Linked DNA regions of Homo sapiens: region 2 is linked to region 1. Evidence: promoter capture Hi-C in 16 types of primary human blood cells and fetal thymus (Javierre and others, 2016). All regions are on one chromosome and are shown on one strand. Each heading gives the region's core, a stretch centred on a gene start or on the middle of the fragment in contact. The rest is flanking DNA. Distances are from core to core; before and after follow the strand shown. Region 1 holds the start of UBE3A (ubiquitin protein ligase E3A). Region 2 overlaps LOC283683 (a long non-coding RNA gene).

Region 1 (4,674 bases), core at 449-2,948:
TTAATCTTTTTGGAACTCAGGGATTTCCGCCACACTTTGATACACCAGGCCATTATAAAATTACACTTAATTTATTGTCAATTTCTACTTAAAAGGAAGAATACCTATAAGTATCTCCATATGCTAGATATAGTAGAAATGGTATGCTTTAATTAGTCCAACAATAAAGTCCTTAAAGATTTACATTCTTTGTTGCCTATTTTGAAAACTTGCGAAGATAAATTTTTTTAAAGATTATAATTCTTACTAGTCCTTTCCATGAAATATAACAGCAAATAGTTTCCAAATGTGGATGTGTAATGAGAGGAAATGAAAAGTGAGTAAAGAGCTGAGTTAAAACATCTTAAAATCGAATATGGCTTAATACTATCATTATCATCAGTTGTCCTGGAATAACTTAAATTCTTCTAGCTTATTGTTGGTTTTTCAATGGTTGGTTATAGTTGTGAGGCGGATACACACACACACCCACACACTTGGCTATACAAAAAAGATGTTCCGAGACTGACAGTTAAAAATTACACTGCTGGCCGAGCACTGTGGCTCATGCCTGTAGTCCCAAAACTTTGGGAGGCCGAGGTGGGAGGATCACTTGAGGCCAGGAGCTCGAGACCAGCCTGGGCCTAACATAGCAAGACACCATTTCTAAGTTTAAAAATAAAAATAAATTTAAAAAAGATACACTGCTATGTACGACTGTTGATATAAAAAATCTGAATACTAGACATGGGTACTCATCTAGTACTTCAAGGGCTTATCAACAAAGTTGCAAGTTGTAACACTATGAATTGTTAGTGATACTCTTTTGGCTTTGCTAGCAAGTGTTGTAAAGCTATACACACACACACACACACACACACACATACACACACACACCTTTTAAAATGGTGACCCTGGTACCAAATATGACTTTAAATGGATTTAATTTTAATGGCTTTAACTACGTTCAGCTGTCATATGGATCAAAATTAGCCTCTATCCAGCTGGGGTCAACCAGGGAGCCACTTTTCTTAACCGACGACCTACTGAACGTCAACAACTGCAGGAGACGGGACTTTACCTTCGTCTCTGGTAAACTAGTTGACACATCCTGTGTTGGCAAGAGGCCTAAGTAGATGACCTTGGTCCTCTAAAATCTGGCCTGCACTCTCGGGGCACCCCTGCAACATCTACAAAGGCAGCTCCAGATAGAAAAGGGTTGGGGTCGAAAAGCCAATAACGGCAGGCACCTGCCCCGCCTCGGGGCTGGGGGGCTATTCCAGCGGCTTCAGCTAACTTTCAGAGCCATTCGTTTCCCAACAAAGTCTGAGGCGTTCCTCTGCTGGGTACACCAAGGGGCTCTGCAACCCTCCTGGGGGGGGGGGTGCCCAGAGGGCTTCCGGAAGTCCCAGGTTTATTCTTTCGGGTCACAGACAGCAGAAACTAAAAAGAGGGATTACCCTTTCTGTCCAGTCGCAAGATGGCGACCGAGCCTGGTGGGACTCCGAGGGGCCGCAGGCCACCTCCTCTTCCCAATGGCCCGTGCGCCGGCGGCGACGGCAAGCGGGAGGGAGGCGGGGCCGGCGAAGGAAGGAGGGGCGGAGCGCGGCGCCCTCCCGCGCGTCTTGGCCCCGCCCCACGTCCCCGCGTCCCGGCCTGGAGCCCTCGCCCGGCCGGGCGGCGCGCGCTGCCTGCCGGGATACTCGGCCCGCCCAGCCAGTCCTCCCGTCTTGCGCCGCGGCCGCGAGATCCGTGTGTCTCCCAAGATGGTGGCGCTGGGCTCGGGGTGACTACAGGAGACGACGGGGCCTTTTCCCTTCGCCAGGACCCGACACACCAGGCTTCGCTCGCTCGCGCACCCCTCCGCCGCGTAGCCATCCGCCAGCGCGGGCGCCCGCCATCCGCCGCCTACTTACGCTTCACCTCTGCCGACCCGGCGCGCTCGGCTGCGGGCGGCGGCGCCTCCTTCGGCTCCTCCTCGGAATAGCTCGCGGCCTGTAGCCCCTGGCAGGAGGGCCCCTCAGCCCCCCGGTGTGGACAGGCAGCGGCGGCTGGCGACGAACGCCGGGATTTCGGCGGCCCCGGCGCTCCCTTTCCCGGCCTCGTTTTCCGGATAAGGAAGCGCGGGTCCCGCATGAGCCCCGGCGGTGGCGGCAGCGAAAGAGAACGAGGCGGTGGCGGGCGGAGGCGGCGGGCGAGGGCGACTACGACCAGTGAGGCGGCCGCCGCAGCCCAGGCGCGGGGGCGACGACAGGTCAGTGTTGCCGCGGCCTGCGCCAGGCGGCGCTGGCTCCCCTCCGTCACTCGGCCGGCCTTCGGGGCCCGCTGTGGCGAGGTCGACACCCCCCTTCCCCGCCCCCCGCCGCCGAGGCGAGTGTTTGGGGGCGCGTGGTCCGAAGGGGCTGGTGCCAGAAGTAGGCCCCTGGTGGCCGCGGCTGCTGCAGCCGTAACTGTCAGTCCTGGCTGAGCGACGGCGGGAGGGTTTTGTCGCCCGAGGGGACGCGAGCGGGCCCGGGGCGGGGCGGGACGTGCGAGGCGTCGAGATTTGGGCCTCCTAGGAGCCAGGCTCTTCGAGCCAGCCGGGGCCCCAGACAGGGAAGGGCAGGCCCTTTCCTTCAAAGGGGAGCCCTTTCTCGGCGTTTTCAAGGTTTTTGGCTCTCTTGGGGAAGACATATTTAGCCGTGTGCTTGGTGGGTTGGGGTTTTGGGGGTGGATTGATGGGAAGGGAGGGCGGATGAAGTGGTATGTCAAGCCCAAGGGTTGTGCGCACAGGTTACTCTGTGTTACCGGCCACCAGGATTTCTGAAGTTGAACGTGAGTTATTGGCTTTGCCAGAGACTGCTGTGTTATATGCAGACCTGTATGCAAGCAGTTGGCCTTTTTTCCCCCCCCTTTTCAGTGTAGAAAATGAAAAGGATGCTTTCCTCATCTTGGTGGTAAAGGCTTTTGTTGGTAAAGGTAGAATTGAATGTACCAAATGCCTTAGTCCGTAAAATTTTAGAAATAATTTTAATACAGACACTGGTGAAGCTTGGCAACCTTGAAAGAGAATTTAGCGTCTACATTTTTTAAATGACTTTTTATGGATATGCTAAATTAGTAACAGTCCAAAATCTGTTTGAGATTATTAAGTGGCGAGGGTGCTGTTGAAAATGTAAACTAATAGCATATGGGGTTTACAGTGCACAGTTAACCTCAATCATGAAGAAATGTGGATATGACCCGTAATTTTGGATCATTTTACTGCCTGCAATATTGAGAGAAGCAGCAAATTATTACAGTTTTTTTTGGGAGACGACCTAAAGTTTAAGAAATACAACTGTTGAAAGTTACCTGTCAGAGACACAAAGGTACCCAATCAATCTTGTTGAATAAATTGGACAAGTGGGATAAGGTGTTTGTCTCACACTTCTGATCAATAAGTACTCTTACTTAAGAAGTGATTTGGTAAATCATGTAAAATTTAGAATTTAGGAGAGATAAGAAAGTTGTAACTTGGTGTGTATAGTGGAAATAGCTTTGAAATTAGATCCTGTTTTTAAATCCAAGCTACTTACCACATTTTTAGTGAAATGAATACATTATTAATGATGCTACTGATAAGCCCTAAGGATGACCAGAAGCCCTTTTAAGAAACACTAATACAGTTGACCAAAAAATAAAAAAGGAAATAGCTTCAAGAAATAATTTTCAATCTTTGTGTATTTATAATATACACAGGAGAAATAAAAGAACAGAATATGAAGAGGTAACTTATAATCTTTACAAAATTAGAATGTAAACTATGCTAGTCTTACTGTGTCAATATTTATTAACCTGCATTAGTTTGCTAAGTAGTATGCTCACTATCCTCTGGACATTGCCCCTGTCCCTGAGGAGCTTAACTTTATACAGAGATACAAAATACTGTGTTTTGATTTCCTTTCAGAGGATTTATAAGCTACTTATGTTTTATCTGTCCTAAATTCTGCCCTTTTTTTTCCCATGGCTGAAAAAATAACTTCCTAAGAAAGGTACATACTAGTCAGAGGTGTGGGGAAAACGTGTTCTCATCCCACTTGTGCAGTCCATTTAACAGGATTTATTGGGTACCTACAGTGTCTTTGACATGTAACATTTAATCAGTTGTATTTCTTAAACTTTAGATAATTTCTATTTCGATCATTTCTATTTCAATCTCCTCCCTCTCCCCTCCAAAAAAATTTACTGTGTAAACTGTGATAATACACTGTTTCTCTCAGTGTCAGTCAGTGGAATGATCCAGATTTATAGGTCATAGCAAAATTTTTCATCCCAAGCTCTTGAAATGATGTTTCCAAATGTCCATTTTCTTAAATGACTGCTAGTTATGTTCTCCAATCATGTTACACATATTTTGTTTAGACTTATAATTGTGTAGGTCTAAATGTAGAAACATTACATTATGTACATATGCAGCTGCTGAAAGAAAATTAGTTTTCTAATTTTTAGATCGGGGTGAAGACAAACTTTTAGAAGTGATCTTTCGGTAAAATACTGGATGAAGTCTTAGGTGCTCTTTTTATGTTGGTTCAGGACAAAAGTTTTTTGACTGCTTTTTGAGTTTTCCCCTCACTGCCAAATGTAAGGATAAAATGTAGTAACAAGACATCTTGGTATGTATAGTGGTAATATCTTTGGAATTAGACCCTAATTTTAATTCTGGCCTTATTAATC
Region 2 (5,198 bases), core at 41-2,540, 2.7 Mb after region 1:
ACAGGCGTGAGCCACTGTACCCGGCCAAGAATTGTTTCTTCTCCTTACCTAGGTAGAGACTTCTGTAGAAATGCCGGGAGATTTTTGGAGAGGGGAGATTTTTCTTTTTTTTCTTTTCTTTTCTTTTCTTTTTTTTTTTTTTTGAGATGGAGTCTCGCTCTGTTGCCCAGGCTGGAGTGCAGTGGCGCGATCTTGGCTCACTGCAAGCTCCACCTCCCGGATTCACGCCATTCTCCTGCCTCAGCCTCCCAAGTAGCTGGGACTACAAGCACCCGCCACCATGCCTGGCTAATTTTTTATGTTTTTAGTAGAGATGGGGTTTCACTGCGTTTGCCAGGATGGTCTCGATCTCCTGACCTCATGATGTGCCCGCCTTGGCCTCCCAAAGTGCTGGGATTACAGGCGTGAGCCACCGCGCCCGGTGGGAGATTTTTCAGATAAAAAATTCAGCAGTTTGGGAGGCCAAGGTGGGTGGATCATGAGGTCAGGAGTTGAAGACCAGCCTGGCCAAGATGGTGAAACCCCGTCTCTACTAAAAATACAAAAATTAGCCAGACACAATGGCAGGTGCCTGTAATCCCAGCTACTCGGGAGGCTGAGGTAGGAGAATCCCTTGAACCTGGGTGGCAGAGGTTGCAGTGAGCCGAGATAGCACCACTGCACTCCAGCCTGGGCAATAAGAGTCAGACTCCGTCTAAAAAAAAAAAAAAATTTAATGGATCTAGTTCTAAACCTCATTTTGAATCCACCCACGTTGCTCTGAAATACATTCATCTTTCCTGTGGCTAAAACCTTAAAGCCTAGCCAGTAACTCCCATTGCACTTGAGGAAATCCAGTCTCCTTGCTGTGGCCCCTAACAGGCTGCTGCTGGCCCACCACGGTGCCTCTAGTTTGTGTAAAATGCATATGTTAATTCATAATAAACCATACAAGGCTTTTTTTTTTTTAGCTCTAAAAGGCTATTATTTACTAGTTGCTGTGTGAATCAGTATTTCTGGGTGCAGTTAGAAATTATTAGAGTTAATGCCCAAGACTCATCTCAACCAACACGGGGGAGGGCATCTGCTCCTTTTATGGTCAGTGACTCTGGGCCTCCTTCTGCTGGGCTCAGTCCTGAGGTGGGTCTGACTCAGGTCAGAGCTGTGCACCCCGGCCCTCCTCCCCAACGTGCATGAGTGCTCTTTAGGATGGAGCTGAACACCGGCTTCTCAAAACCATGTGGCCCCATCACAGGCCCTGAGAACTGATTGGGTCACTCTGGTGGGCTCCCCAGCCCTAGACAAGAAGGGTTTCTCTAGGGAGCCTGGCCCCCACTCATGAGACCTGGAGCCTCAAAGATCTCTTCGGAGCCCCAAAGATCTCTTTGCAGTGTATCAGCCCAGGCCTCCACACTGTGGCCTCTGCTCTCCTCTCCTGTTCCCCATGTGCATTTTCTTTTTCTTTTTGGCTTCACTTCTGAGTTATTCATTTAGCCATTTACTGCAGGAGCGAGGTGAGGATAGGAGAGTACTTGGGGTACCCGTAATGTTCACTGTGGTCTGGGGGTCCCCGAGCAGGACAGTGAGTTTGGGGTCTGGGGCTCAGGCGCTATGGGAGTAGACTGTGCGAAGTGACAGGAAGACATCCGCCTTGCATATTTTCTTTGGTTTTAAAGAAAGACGTTACCATTTCATGTTATATTTGTTTTATGAGACAGTTTCATTCTGTTGCCCAGGCTGGAGTGCAATGGTGCGATCTCAGCTCACTGCAACCTCCGCATCCCAGGTTCAACCGATTCTCCTGCCTCAGTCTCCTGAGTAGCTGAGATTACAAAAAAAAAAAGGTACATTTTAAAGCAGAGTAACAAATTGATAACTAAGCGTGGAGTGGAAAGAGGTGACCCCCGAGGACTGGAAATGGCAACGTTAGACTATGAACTACATTTCTCCCATGGCTGATTTGGCCTATGCCCAGGAATGAGCAAAGACAGCAGGCCCGTGAGACTGGAAGCAAGATGGAGTCAGCCATGCTAAACTTCTCTCACTGTCATCTTTGCAAAGCTGGTCTCACCATTTATTGAAGTGAATATTCTTTTTTTTTTTTTTTTAATGAGACGAAGTCTTACTCTGTTGCCCACACAGGAGTGCAATGGTGCAATCTTGGCTCACTGCAACCTCCACCTCCTGGGTTCAAGCAATTCTCCTGCCTCAGCCTCCCGAGTAGCTGGGATATCAGGTGCCCACCACCATGCCTGGCTAATTTTTGTATTTTTAGTAGAAATGGGGTTTCACCATGTTGGGCCTCACAATACACATCAGCCCATCTCCTCTCCTGCTTGACAGGGATGGTCATGATCCTCATTTCCCAGTTAAACAAGCCGAAACTCCATTATGGGGTTTCACCATATTGGCCAGGCTGGTCTCGAACCCCTGACCACAAGTGATCCAAGCACCTCGGCCTCCAAAGTGCTGAGATTACAAGTGTGAGCCACTATACCCAGCCAATTAGGGGTAAATATCCAACATTTAGCCCGGTGCAGTGGCTCACTCCTTAATCCCAGCACTTTCAGAAGCTGAGGTAGGAGGATCACTTGAGCCCAGGAGTTTGAGTCCAGGTCTGGCAACATAGTGAGACCTTGTCTTAACAAAAAATTTAGAACTTAGCCAGGCATGGTGGTGTGCGCCTGTAGTCACAACTACTTGGGAGGCTGAGATGGAGGAGTGTTTGAACCCAGAAGGTCAAGTAAGCTGTGATTGTGCCACTGTACTCCAGTCTGTGTAACAGAGCAAGACCCTGTCTCCAAAAAAAAAAAAAAAAAAAAATCCAAAATGTATAAAGAATTAATACAACTCAAAACAAATAACCTAATTTTTAAAATGTTTTTAAAAAACTTGAATAGACATTTCTTTAAACAAAACATGAAAATAGCAAGTGGGTATCTGAAAGGCGTTTTGCATTGTAAATCATTAGGGAAATGCAAATCAAACCCATTGAGATGCCACCTCACACCCCTTATGACTATTATCAAAAAGTCAAAAGATAAATGTTGGCAAGGGTGTGGCGAAATAGGAACTTTTGCATACTGTTGATGAGAATGTACATTGATACAGTCATTCTGGAAAAGAGTATGAAGATTTCTAGAGAAATTAAAAATAGAACTACCATATGACTCAGCAATCCCTCTTCTGAGCATACACCCAAAGGAAATGAAATCATTACTATGTAAAGTTACCTGTATTCTCATGTTCATTGCAGTCCTAACCATAATAGCCAAGATATGGAAACAATCTAAGTGTCCATCAATGGATAAATGGATAAAGAGACTGTGGCACACACACACAATGGAATATTATTCAGCCCTAAAACAAACAAGGTCTTGCCATTTGCTGCAAGATGGATGAGGCTGGAGGACGTCATGCTAAGTGAAATAAAGCATACACAGAAAAACAAATATTGCATAAACCCATTTATATGTGGGATGTAAAAATGTAAATAAATAAATCTACAGAGATAGAGAGCAAAACATTGTTTACCAGGGGAGGTGGGAGAGGGGAGGAATTGGGGACATGGAGGCCAAAGGACACAAAGTAGCAGGTATGAAGGATGAACAAGTCTAGAGATGTAATGTATGACATGAGGACTGCAGGGAACAAAATTGTTATGCATGTGAAATTCATGCTAAATGAGTAGATTTCAACTGCTCTTGCCACAAAAGCAACAAGGAAATGGGGAACTATGTGAAATGATTGGTGTGTTAATTTCTTTCAGTATAGGAATCTTTTTACAATCTATATATAACTCTTAGCATCATGTTGTAAGCCTTAAATATACACAATAAGATTTATTTTTAAAAAAGAAAAATTGAGAGTCAAAGAACTGACAAAGCAAAGACTAAGTAAATAAAAACAGGGGTAACTATATTTATATCTGTTAATCAAAAAATGAGTGACTGACTGAGGCAAGTGCCTCCATCAACAGAGCTTTGTTCAGCCAAAATTTGATGATACCCCCAGAAAAAACACAAGCCAGAGAAACGCCTGTGACCTGTGCTTTCCAAAGAGGGTTTTGGGAACTCAGTACATAAGGGGAGAAGGCGTGCAGGAGAGAAGAAAGGGAGGGGGAGCAGGCAGTGAAGCGGTGGTTACATTCTTAGGAAGCTCTAATTAGTGCTCAGTAAATCTTCATTTTACATAAGATAAGGTAAACATCTGAAAAGAGGAAGGAAAGAGTCAATTATGCAGCCATCTCAGGGTAGGTGGAAGAGTGATTGATCTCATGTTCTTGTTCTGTACCTGGGAAGATAGGCCTGTAATCAACATTGTCAGTGTCAGATTGAATAGAACTCAGTTTTACATCTTGAACTGAGGTTGCAGAGCCACGGTTACAATGGGCATATGCTTATTTTATAGGGGGACATGGATCCTGAAAGATTCAGGGGCCAGTAAAGAACATCCCTGTGAGCGATTTGTGAGGGAGGCCATATGGAGAGGTACGTGGCCTTTTGTGGTAGTGGGGACCTGGCTTATGTCTAATGCCATCACACAGGGTTGTGAAATGGCAGCTATCTCTTTGGGGAGAAAGAATGGTAGTGTTGCATGACTCAGCTCCCAAACTTAACGTCTCCCTTAGCATAACAGGTTTGGTGGTTCCAAGACTTTATTTTCTCTTACATATTAAAAAAAACTCTTAACGAAAGAGCTATGTGAGAGATAAAGTGGGTATTTCCTCATGATAAAAGGGTGCAACCAGAAGGGAGAAAAAGGAATTCTAAATGTGTTTATGCCTGGTAACTTAACCTTAAAACACACAGAACAAGCTTAACAAATGAAAAAAAAGAAATAAGTTGATGATCATTGTGGGAAACTTTAATATCTGTGTCTCAGCCACTGAAAAATAAACAAACATCAGTAAGCACATAGAATCTTTAAAGGATGCATTTAACACACTGGACCTAACTGAGATACGTGGTACACTACGCTCAACATGCAGAATACATATCCTTTTCAAGTGCAGAAGCAATATTTATAAAAATTAATCATATTTTCAATCATTGAGAAGACACAAATTCCACAGAGTTTTAGTTATACAAATATTTAATCACAGTGGAACTATAAGTTTGGAAATTAAGCAAAACATTTTCAGTATGGTAAAGGGATGAATAAAATCAAAGTTTGCTTTTTTGAAACACTAATAAAATTGATGGCCTCCAGCAAGATTG

The links. Contacts are between HindIII fragments. The CHiCAGO score rates a contact against its expected background, and 5 or more counts as called.
Region 2: a fragment that was not itself captured here is called in contact with the fragment with the promoter of UBE3A in region 1 in 1 of 17 cell types (fetal thymus); the score reaches 8.8 in fetal thymus.

The regions. Positions count from the first base shown.
Region 1 is chr15:25,436,048-25,440,721 of GRCh38, reverse strand. It overlaps UBE3A (ubiquitin protein ligase E3A), which reads left to right and starts at 1,698. Exons shown (of 13, transcript NM_130839.5): 1 at 1,698-2,233. RefSeq lists enhancers at 691-1,636, 1,637-2,582 and silencers at 1,434-1,773, 2,134-2,553. The HindIII fragment of the contact is 4,364 bases long and covers 1-3,011 here.
Region 2 is chr15:22,778,367-22,783,564 of GRCh38, reverse strand. It overlaps LOC283683 (a long non-coding RNA gene), which reads right to left. Exons shown (of 5, transcript NR_040057.1): 5 at 4,828-5,198. Among named protein-coding and RNA genes, the nearest start is that of NIPA1, 5.7 kb to the left of the region's middle. The HindIII fragment of the contact is 7,008 bases long and covers 1-4,794 here.